4 separate regions of the Homo sapiens genome follow, and regions 1, 2 and 3 are each linked to region 4. The links are contacts of gene promoters, found by promoter capture Hi-C in human tissues and cell types (Jung and others, 2019). All regions are on one chromosome and are shown on one strand. The core of a region is centred on a gene start or on the middle of the fragment in contact, and the rest is flanking DNA. Distances in the headings are between cores, read along the strand shown. Region 1 overlaps DNAH3 (dynein axonemal heavy chain 3). Region 2 overlaps LDAF1 (lipid droplet assembly factor 1). Region 3 overlaps DCUN1D3 (defective in cullin neddylation 1 domain containing 3). Region 4 holds the start of POLR3E (RNA polymerase III subunit E).

Evidence for each region. The method cuts DNA at HindIII sites, captures the fragments that hold promoters and counts their contacts. A contact is called where the count stands out against the background at its distance.
Region 1: a fragment that was not itself captured here is called in contact with the fragment with the promoter of POLR3E in region 4 in 2 of the 25 tissues and cell types used here (dorsolateral prefrontal cortex and spleen).
Region 2: a fragment that was not itself captured here is called in contact with the fragment with the promoter of POLR3E in region 4 in 1 of the 25 tissues and cell types used here (dorsolateral prefrontal cortex).
Region 3: a contact is called between a fragment that was not itself captured here and the fragment with the promoter of POLR3E in region 4, in 1 of the 25 tissues and cell types used here (dorsolateral prefrontal cortex).

The regions. Positions count from the first base shown.
Region 1 is chr16:21,130,608-21,133,307 of GRCh38, reverse strand. The region is part of intron 8 of DNAH3 (dynein axonemal heavy chain 3); the gene reads left to right. Among named protein-coding and RNA genes, the nearest start is that of DNAH3, 19 kb to the left of the region's middle. The HindIII fragment of the contact is 3,729 bases long and covers 1-2,700 here.
Region 2 is chr16:21,169,670-21,172,369 of GRCh38, reverse strand. LDAF1 (lipid droplet assembly factor 1) reads right to left here. Exons shown (of 5, transcript NM_001301771.2): 3 at 1,765-1,933. Among named protein-coding and RNA genes, the nearest start is that of LDAF1, 12 kb to the right of the region's middle. The HindIII fragment of the contact is 5,839 bases long and covers 1-2,700 here.
Region 3 is chr16:20,860,563-20,863,262 of GRCh38, reverse strand. It overlaps DCUN1D3 (defective in cullin neddylation 1 domain containing 3), which reads left to right. Exons shown (of 3, transcript NM_173475.4): 2 at 620-1,155. The coding sequence starts at 725. Among named protein-coding and RNA genes, the nearest start is that of DCUN1D3, 38 kb to the left of the region's middle. The HindIII fragment of the contact is 4,724 bases long and covers 1-2,700 here.
Region 4 is chr16:22,296,126-22,298,825 of GRCh38, reverse strand. It overlaps POLR3E (RNA polymerase III subunit E), which reads right to left and starts at 1,417. Exons shown (of 21, transcript NM_018119.4): 1 at 1,289-1,417. It overlaps TRL-AAG2-4 (tRNA-Leu (anticodon AAG) 2-4), which reads right to left and starts at 1,686; the gene lies at 1,605-1,686. RefSeq lists silencers at 197-336, 1,347-1,796 and enhancers at 547-686, 1,129-1,673. The HindIII fragment of the contact is 29,231 bases long and covers 1-2,700 here.

The DNA of each region.
Region 1 (2,700 bases), core at 93-2,592, 1.2 Mb after region 4:
CACTGCAACCTCCTCCTCCCAAGCTGAAGCAATCCTCCCACCTCAGTCTCCCAAGTTAGCTGAGTAGTTGGGACCACAGACCCACACCACCACACCCAGCTAATTTTTTGTATTTTTTGATAGAGACGGAGTTTCACCATGTTGTCCAGACTGGTCTCAAACTCCTAAGCTCAAGCAATCCACCCACATCGGCACCCCAAAGTTCTGGGATTACAGGTGTAAGCCACCACGCCCGGACGGTCTTATTCCTTTATGTAACTCAGTGCCAGTACAGGGCTGGCAAGCAGTGATCTCTCAGGTATATTTATCAATAATTAAATTTGCGAAACTCCGTCTCAAAAAAAAAAAAATTGTAGGAGTCCAGATGAGACAGAAGCCACCTTTTTTCATTCTTTCATTTTAAAAAAAAGTGAGATATCCACATTCCATAAAATTCACCCTTTGAAAGTACACAATGCAAGTTTTTAATATATTCACAAGTTTGTTTAATCCTTACCACTGTCTAATTCAAGAGTATTATCATTACCCCAAAAAGAAACCCATTAGCAGTCACTCCGCATTCTCACCTTCCCCCATTTCCTCCCAACCACTAAGTGATTTTCTGTCTCTATGGATTTGCATATTCTGGACATTTTATAGAAATGGAATCATGCAATATATGATCTTTTGTGTCTGGTGTCTTTCAATGAACAATATTGTCAGTCTTCATCCACACTGAAGCTTGTATCAGTAGTGAGTGCTTCCTTTTTATGGCGGCATACTAATCCATTGGATGGCTATCCGACATTTGTTTTATCTATGCATCAATTGCAGTGAGCCTGGAGGTGGAAGACTCTGGTTTTTTTAGTGAGCCCTTCAAGAAGGTACACATCCTGGTGAGAGGATGAAGACACCGGAGTTCACTGAAAGGCCAGGCTAATGAAATGATGAGCTGCCCCCATCTGAGTTTTGTATTAGAAAAATTAGAGGCAGATATGCTTACTTAACTTTGATTGGCCGAACTTATTAGTAGCTCATGTATTTTGCTTTGGGAGGATCTCTAGCTTTGAACGTGTTCAGTCTTAAGGGAGCCCTGTGGCTTGGAGAACCTACTTGTTTTTCAAATCCTTAGTTTTGCTTGTATTTTAAAAAGGAATTGAGGGGGTGAAGTCAACGTAGGACAGAGCCCATCAGTGAAAAGAAATAGCTGTATTCTTTTCTTTGAACTGAATTCAATTTTCTAAAGCATTGGAAGTACCAGTCAGCAGTCAGGACATTGAGAAAAAAGAAGTAATTTTCTAACTAAGTGGAACCATATAAAGTAATAACTTATAGAATGGGATCTGAATTCTGGTTCTTGTTCTGTTACTAATTAATAGTATAATTTGAGAGAAATTAATCCCTCTGTGACTGTTTTCTTTTCTTTCTTTCTCTCTTCCTTTCTTTCTCTCCCCCTTTTTTTTTTTTTTTTTTTGAGATGGAGTTTCACTCTTGTTGCCCAGGCTGGAGTGCAATGGCGCGATCTTGGCTCACCGCAACCTCTGCCTCCCAGGTTCAAACATTTCTCCTGCCTCAGCCTCCCTAGTAGCTGGGATTACAGGCATGTGCCACCATGCCTGGCTAATTTTTTTTTGTATTTTTAGTAGAGACAGGGTTTCTCCATGTTGGTCAGGCTGGTCTCGAACTCCCGACCTCAGGTGATCCACCTGCCTCAGCCTCCCAAAGTGCTGGGATTACAGGCAAGAGCCACCACGTCCGGCCTTTCTTTCTTTCCTTCCTTCCTTTCTTTTTCTTTCTTTCCTTCCTTCCTTCCTTCCTTCCTTCTCTCTCATCTCTCTTTCTTTTCTTTCTTCCTTCCTTCCTTCCTTCCTTTCTTTCCTTCTTTCTTTCTTCCTTTCTTTTCTTCTTTCTTTCTCTTTGACCCTGTTTGTCCTTCCTTCCTTCCTTCCTTCCTTCCTCTGTGACCCTGTTTCTTTCTTGCTTTCTTGCTTGCTTTCTTGTTTTAGACAAGCTTTTGCTCTGTCACCCAGGGTGTGGTGCAGTGGCATGATTAGAGTTCACTGCAGCCTCAAACTCCTGGGCTCTCTCCTCAGCCTCCCAAGTAGCTGGGACTATAGGTGCATGCCACCATGTCTGACTAATTTTTACATTTTTTGTAGAAACAGGGTCTCTCTAGGTTGCTTAGGCTGGGCTTGAACTCCTGGCTTTAAGAATTCCTCCTTCCTCAGCCTCCCAAAGTGTTGCGATTACAGGCATGAGCCACCGCCTAGTCTGACCCTGTGTTCTACATGCAAATGGGAATCATCATAACAATACCTACCTCCTGGAGTTGTTAGCTAAAGAAAGTGCTTAGACTGCTGCTTGGCACACAGTAATTGCTCAACAAATTAAGGTATTGCTTTAAGTACAAGCGTGTTTATGAGCTAAAAAAATAAATTAACATAGAAACTAGTGAGGAAGTCAGTCTTAGAGCTGGATGAATAGCCAGAAACTTCATAAAGAAGTTCAGAAGATAATAGATAATCACATGTACCTGAGTTTAAATTGATCTCGTAGCAAAGACGGCAAATTGTTGAGCCTATAGCTTCACTGAGAAGAAAGGCTTTTTACCACTTGCTTTTCATGGTTCCCTGAGGAAGATTATGCCAGCAACAGCAGCACCAAAGTGAACTGAAATCATTTAGAAGAATTTTATCAACTGAACCAAAAAAATCAGCAATG
Region 2 (2,700 bases), core at 84-2,583, 1.1 Mb after region 4:
GGCTCAAGTGATTCTACTGTCTCAGCCTCCCAAGTAGCTGGGATACAGGTGCCCACCACCATGCCCGGCTAATTTTTTGTATTTTTAGTAGAGATGGGGTTTCACCATGTTGGCCAGGCTGGTCGCGAACTCCTGACCTCCAGTGATCTGCCCTCCTCAGCCTCCCAGTGTTGGGATTACAGGCATGAGCCACTGTGTCCGGCCTCTTTTTTTTTTTTTTTAAAGAGATGGAGGGAATCTCGCTATGTTGCCCAGAGTGGTCTTGAACTCCTGGTCTCAAAAGATCCAAAGTCTGTATTTTGATAAAGAAAGTAAGATTTATACACACTTGGAGCTGGGTGCAGTGGCTCACACCTGTAATCCCAGCACTTTGGGAGGCCGAGGTGGGCAGATCACTTGAGGTCGGGAGCTCAAGACCATCCTGGCCAACATGGCGAAACCCTATCTCTACCAAAAATACAAAAATTAGTCGGGCATGGTGGGGCATGCCTGTAATCCCAACTACTTGGGAGGCTGAGGCAGGAGAATTTCTTGAACCTGGGTGGCAGAGGTTGCAGTGAGTTGAGATCATGCCACTGTATTCCAGGCTGGGCGACAGAGTAAGATTCCATCTAGAAAAAAAAAAAAGATTTAAATACACTCAGGTTCAAGAACCACTATTCTAGAGGCTTTGCACATGCTGTTCCCCTGTCCAAAAGGCCCTTCCTTGCCCACCCTGAGGCAAAGTTGTTATGCATCCTTAAAGTCTTGTCTGCTGTAAAGCTTTGCATGGTACCACCAAAATGTAATGGCTCTCTCCTTTCTCTATAAATTTCCTTTCTTATGGTACTCATTCATTCCTCCATCCATTCATTCATGCATTCACCCATCTATCTATCAACATTTACTCAAAAACCACTCTGCCAGGCTGTATTTGGCTCATCCACTGACCATGCCTACTTTCTCCTTCAAGTGTAAACTGCCTTGTCCCTGGGGCAAATAAACAGCCCTGGGTGCTCTTAGCTCTGGGAAGCCACGGAATGGACCAGAAGTGATCACCTGACCCACTGGCCACCATCTCTTTGGCCACTTGCCTGGGGTGTGTGATCTGATTTGAAAAGTCAAAGTGAGCAAATCAGATTTGCTTTCCCAGTAATTTTAACTTAGGAATACAGGGAGAAGTTGACTGTTGGTAGTGGAACTTCAGGAGGAAGGATGAAGGTGGTCTCCAGTACCTAGCGAGGCATCTGGCATGCAGTAGGTGCCCAATAACTCACTGTGGAATGAATGGCCTCTCTGCTTAATAATAATAGCTAGCATTCATTGAGAAGCTACTCTGTGACATGTATTGTGTATTGTGCTAAGGACTTTATGGAGCCATAAGTTTCAATCTTCACAACAACCTTTTGAGATTGTATTATTATATCTGCATTTTACATATTAAGAATTTAAGGCTCAGAGAGGTAAACCACTTGCCCCAAATCACAGTGGTGGAGGTGGGATTTGAATGCAGGCTCCAGAGTCTATGTTTTACCTACTCTGATAAGTTGCCTTGCTTGATGTGATTTTGACAAGAATGGCAGACAACCAGGCATGGTAGCCCATGGCCATAATCCCAGCACTTTGGCAGGCCGACGTGGGAGGATCACTTGAGCCCAGGAGTTTGAGACCAGCCTGGGCAACATAACAAGACCCCGCCCCTTAAAAAAATTTTTAAATGGCCCCAAAAGTATTTTTCTCCCAATTGAATTATTTTCTAAAGGGGTGAATGACGGAACAGGCTACCTTCCAATATTATGACCCCCAGCAGAGCAGCCAGGGTGGTAAGCACCACGATGAGCAGGAAGAATCCAACAGGAACGGCCGACATGACAATGAACACCAGCAAGGTGAAGGCCAGAAACGGATGGCTGTCCAAGTACTGACCCACTGGAGACTTCATAAAGGCCACCACCTGTAGGCAAAGGACAAAGAGCCAGGGATAAGTAACACATCGGAACCCCAGGTTGAATGAATCTGCCCAAGCTGTGGGAATTACAAGGCAGAAGTCGTAAAGCCAGAAGGCTTATGCATTAACAAGTCACTACAGGCCGGGTGCAGTGGCTCATGTCTGTAATCCCAACACTTTGGGAGGCCAAGGCGAGCGGATCACCTGAGGTTGGGAGCTTGAGACCAGCCTGACCAACATGATGAAACCCCCGTCTCTACTAAAAATACAAAATTAGCCAGGCACGGTGGTGTGTGCCTGTAATCCTAGCTACTGGGGAGGCTGAGGCAGGAGAATTGCTTGAACCTGGGAGACAGAGGTTGCAGTGAGCCAAGGTTGCACCATTGCACTCCAGCCTGGGAGGCAGAGGTTGCAGTGAGCCAAGGTCACACCATTGCACGCCAGCCTGGGAGACAGAGCAAGACTCCATCTCAAAAATGATAATAAGAATAACAAGAGCGAAACTCCGTCTCAAAAAAAAAAAAAAAGTCACTACAACAAGACTTCTCCCAAGACATGAGTCACCCAGGCAGCTATCTTAGGCAGCTGTGGAGAGGTGGCAAGTCTGAGGTCCCCACCCAAGGTCAAGCCTTGTGAAAGGAGGAAAGACCCAGTCATGGCTCTCCTGCCAAACACACTCTTGAGAAGACCTCTTCGGCATAAAGGTGCATTGATGTAAGGTACATACCATCTGCCTCCTACTTTACAGCTGAGGTTCTCATAGTTGAAGCCAC
Region 3 (2,700 bases), core at 78-2,577, 1.4 Mb after region 4:
GAGTAGGGCAAAGCAAGGGCATTTCACCTACTGTGTGGGATAGGCCCAGAAAGGAATCTGGAGAGATCAGAGGCAAATTTCATTTTGCTGCTTGGCTTAGGCCCCTGCTTGTAGTCTTGACAACCTCATCATTAGGGCATTATGAGACTATTGTTCTGAATATGGCCACCCCTTCTCCCTACTCATCCTACTTAAAAAGAAAATCTGAGAATGTTGGCATTAGGAATTAGAAGATGAACCCTTCCTTTGTGCCTTCTGGCTTAACCCAGGTCCAAATAACTTTTCTTATGTGATGGCAAGTTGGCAAGACAGATTTCCTCTGGAATATTTCTGTCAGTCTTTGATGCATTCTACATATGAATCGGCCTCTTTGAAATCTATGTTACCTTAAGAATTTTAGGAATTTCCCTCATTGGTTCTCCATATGTGCCCCAGCCTCTGCGTCGCCAAGGTGAAGTTACGGAGCTGGCCTGTGAAGGGGATGATGAACTCAGGGTCTCTCCCATGGTTCGTTGTTGGCTCATGGAAATAGAGCGGTGAACCAGTGTGCACCCTAGAAGGTAGGGTCCATACCCCATTTCCCCCACCCAGAGGTGATGGCTTTCTAATTTCCTTCCAGGTTGGCTGGCTCCTCTGGCTGATGGCATGTTGAGGTACATGGGCCAGCGGCAGCGAGGGCATCCAATCCAGAGGGGTCCACTCTAGAGGCCAGGCCACCAGCACCATGGGCCAGTGTGTCACCAAGTGTAAGAATCCCTCATCGACCCTGGGCAGCAAAAATGGAGACCGTGAGCCCAGCAACAAGTCACATAGCAGGAGGGGTGCAGGCCACCGTGAGGAGCAGGTACCACCCTGTGGCAAGCCAGGTGGAGATATCCTCGTCAACGGGACCAAGAAGGCCGAGGCTGCCACTGAGGCCTGCCAGCTGCCAACGTCCTCGGGAGATGCTGGGAGGGAGTCCAAGTCCAATGCCGAGGAGTCTTCCTTGCAAAGATTGGAAGAACTGTTCAGGCGCTACAAGGATGAGCGGGAAGATGCAATTTTGGAGGAAGGCATGGAGCGCTTTTGCAATGACCTGTGTGTTGACCCCACAGAATTTCGAGTGCTGCTCTTGGCTTGGAAGTTCCAGGCTGCAACCATGTGCAAATTCACCAGGTTAGTCACAAACACTTTATGTCACCAGGTGAGCAGTGGAGGAAAGGGAACAGCATTGGGCAGTGGTGCCCAGCTAGGATAGGACTGGGTTGGCTTCATAGGGTTTTGGGTAAGTTTTTATTTTTCTGATCAGGTTCTCTAAAGCTTGAATCTTTTGAGCCAAGTTGTGGTTATGATGCTGAGAAGCCCCTCTGGACTCTAAGGGTTTAAAATATATCTCTCTGGCTCTGCAGCAGACCTACTGAATAGGAATCTCAGCAGGGAAGGCCCAGGCACTTGGATTTTGATAGAGATTCATGTCTGGTTCTAATGTGTACGCTATGGTTTTTTTTTTCTTTTTCTTTTTCTTTTTTTTTTTGCAGAATAACGCCTTTGCCTAATTCATAGGTCAAATTTCAGGCCTATCATAGCATTATTTGGCAGCTTCTGAGTAACTGGGCACTGCTCATCTTTGCCTTAAATGAGAAATAAGCCAGGGTGAGCCAGGTGGCCAAGTTGCTGCTCGGCCCCACTGCTGTCTTGGACCTTTCTTTTCTTTTACTCCTTTACATGTCAGTTCACTCACTTGATATTTATTGTATGCCCAGCATGTGCCAGGCACTGTGAGTACCAATATAGTAAGTGCCTCTGGGGAGGGGATACACCTCTCTCCCTCCATGAAGCCACTTGCACTGTGAGTACCAATATGGTAAGTGCCTCTGGGGAGGGGATACGCCTCTCTCCCTCCATGAAGCCACTTGCACTGTGAGTACCAATATGGTAAGTGCCTCTGGGGAGGGGATACGCCTCTCTCCCTCCATGAAGCCACTTGCACTGTGAGTACCAATATAGTAAGTGCCTCTGGGGAGGGGATACGCCTCTCTCCCTCCATGAAGCCACTTGCCCTTTCTGGTACTTAGCATGTTGCCCGCCCTCAGCCAGGCCTGTGTATAATAAGGTCAGTTGGCCTCAGTTACTAAGCAGTAGCTGTGCATATTGTTCTGGTCATATGTCCCTGTAGAATGTGGTTTGTAGAGCACGGGGTTGTGAATAAGAACTGACTGTGAGGCCTAGCCATACAATTTGTAGTTTGCATGCCCCCCACCCCAGGAAGGTTACCCTCCAGACCTCAGAGGCCTCACCTCTTCAGCAGATACTACAGTCCCTGAGAAGACGATCAATGCGAGACCATGCTGTAAGCTGAAAGGGTTGTATAGATGTTAAAAATACATACATAATTTTTGTTTTTTAATAATAGAATTTTGATCTCTGGTGGTAGAATTACTCAGGTTCAGAATCCTTGGCTCCAGAAGTCTCCCTTGGCAATCTCTAAAAATATACCCCAAACAAACAACCCATAGAGAATCAGAAGGGAAACAGGAAGCCTCCTCCTCTGGAAGGAGAAAGAATCCGCAGCTTAATCGCTATTGCAGAGCGGGAAACAGGGCAGGGAGCAGGAGACTTGAGTTTAGCTTTGGGAAGATGAATGAATGAATAAATGAACCATTATCAGCTGCCAACCGTGTGCCAGGCACTGTTAGAAGCAGAATAGTAATTTGTTTAGTC
Region 4 (2,700 bases), core at 168-2,667:
TATAGTACAAAGAATACTTTATATTTAATCTTCTCATTAGCCCTATCAATAGAGATTTATCATCTTCAATTTGGAAATGACGAGACTGAGGTTCAGATATAAGCAACTCATCCAAGGTGGAATGAGGACAGAAACTTGGGTCTCGCTATGTCAAAGATCCTTATTCTTATTCTTAACCACTATACTGCACGGTTTTCTGATAAACGGCAGTATGGTTAAGTGGGTAAGAGCTTGGACCCGAGAACAAAACTGTGCAGGTTCAAATCCCACCACAGCTGCTTGGCATCTGTGACCCACCTGAGTTGTCTGGGTTTGGTATTCCTCCCTATTTTCATCCCTAAAGTAGGGAAACTAAGTACCGACCTCCAGACCCCTGCGGGGAAGGAGTAAGGACAGGACGCTAATAAACGTAACCTCTGGGAAGGTTTGTTATTACTTGACAACATGTTTTCTGCCAACGTAAGCGGGTAATGACGCTAAGCCACAAGTCAAACGCTGCAAGCAGGAGCGTCACCCGGTTTCTACTGAGCCGTCACCACAACCCTATGAGGTAGGAATTTCTATTATCTCTATTTCACAGATGAGGAAACTGTGGAGATCGCTAAGATCTCTTCTTTCCGCCTCCAAGCCCAAGGAATTCTAAAGCTAACCCAAAGGAACGACCTTGTTTGTTTACTGACACCTCCTCGGACCGAATGGTCAGGGCTGTATCCGGAACACAGAGTTGGCTCGGTAAACACTGAATGGTTGCCTGAATAAATGAATGAGGAATCCCTGGCCTCGCCGGGCAGAGGCTAATCCGGTTCAGCTGCGAAGTGGGGGCTCCGGCAGGCGCAGGTGCCCTCCCTGCCCATCGGGGCGGGCCGCCGATCCCGAGCCTCGCTGTCCAATGGGTTTCTGCTCCCTCGCGGGTGGTCAGGCCCCCCTTCTCACGCCCACCACGCAGTCCCTGCCGCGAGCCGCCACTACACCCGACGCGCGGACAGGTGTTTCTTCCGTAGGAGGCCTCCCAGGCCCGGATAGGGCAGGTCGGCTGGACCCTGAGTCACCGCCGCCAGCGTCGGCCGCGGCCTCCCCAACTCCCAGGTGTCAGGTCAAGGAAGTCAGAGTCCGGGGTCGGCCTGGAGCCGGCTGCCCCTCCTCCCCGCCCGAGTCCCGAGAGGCCTCCAGCTGCTAGGCACAGCGCGGCGCGGGCCTCCTTGGCCTACTCGGGAATCTAGCCCAGGCCCACGTCGTGAGTGCGGTCCGGCTCAAGCCCCAGCTCGGGCACTGCCAAGACGGGACTCACCTCTCCGCGGGGGCCGAGCGCGGACGGCGGCAACGGCCCAGTTACCCGCGGGCTGCAGAGACGGCGGCGGCCCGGCTCTCCTCTCAGGCGGCGGCCATGTTGCTGGTGGAGAAACTCCGGCGGACACGTGGGGGGGAGCGGGCCGGCCCCAGCGTTTCCTCTTACCCACAATGCCCCGCCCCGGTGCACGCGGCTCCGCCCCCTCCGCCGCGCCATTCATGCAGGCCGTGAGCCCCGCCCTGCAGCAGGGGGCGCTGATGGCACGCGCAAAACTGAGCCAGGAGTGTATGCAGCGGGGACAAAAAGACAGCAACCCTGGCAGCGGTGGGATTCGAACCCACGCCCCCGAAGAGACTGGAGCCTTAATCCAGCGCCTTAGACCGCTCGGCCACGCTACCCAGCTGCAATATGTTTATGCCAGAAAGCTACTTAATGCTTTTGCTTTTGCATTTAATCTGGACATTGCGAGGCGTTTTCGCTGAGGTTTTTTTTTTGCTTAACGTGTGTTCAAGGTGATCCCTATAGAATTATTTTAAAAAGCCGTGTTTTGGAAAATAAACACTTGCTCCAGTCTTTAGACCCAGGTTGGTTCCGAATAGGTATTAGAGCAAAACGCATTTTTAGAAACTTTACTCTGAGTTGGATGGTTAACCCGGAGACCCCTGGTTAACCCACAGGTAATCCATACGACCCGGATTGGGTGTCTCCGGGAGAAGAAATTGATCTGATCAGAAACATGCACCAGGGGATCTGACGGCCAAACCCTGGAGCTGGTCTGGGCAGTTGTCTCTGAAAAATTATGTTTAAATTTTTACTTACACAAATAACACGCGAATTATTGCAAAATATTTAAACTTTGCAGATAAGGTACAAATGCTCTTTGACCTTGACTCGCATCCTAGGCCCCTCCGCCGAGGTAACTAACCATTATTATCTGTTTAATATGAACTATGGTTTGAATGTGTCCCCCAAATTTCATGTGTTGGAAATTTAATCCCCAATGTGGCAGTATTGTGTGGTGGGCCCTTTAAGAGGTGATTAGATCATGAGGGTGGAGCCCTTATGAATGGATTAATCTCTTCATGGATTCATGGATTAATGGGTTAATGGATTAATGGGTTATCTTGGGAGGGGGACTGATGGCTTTATAAGAAGAGGGAGAGAGACCTTAGCTAGCAAGGGAGCAGCTCAGCACCCCCTCCATATGATGGCTTGTACTGCCTGGGAACTCTGCAGGTGTCCCCCACCAGCAAGAAGGCCCTCACCAGATGCACACTCTTGACCTTGGACTTCTCAGACTCCATAACTGTAAGAAATAACTTCCTTTTCTTTACAAATTACCCAGTTTCAGGTATTCTGTTATAAGCAACAGAAAATGGACTAAAACACTATATATCTTTCTAGATCTTTTG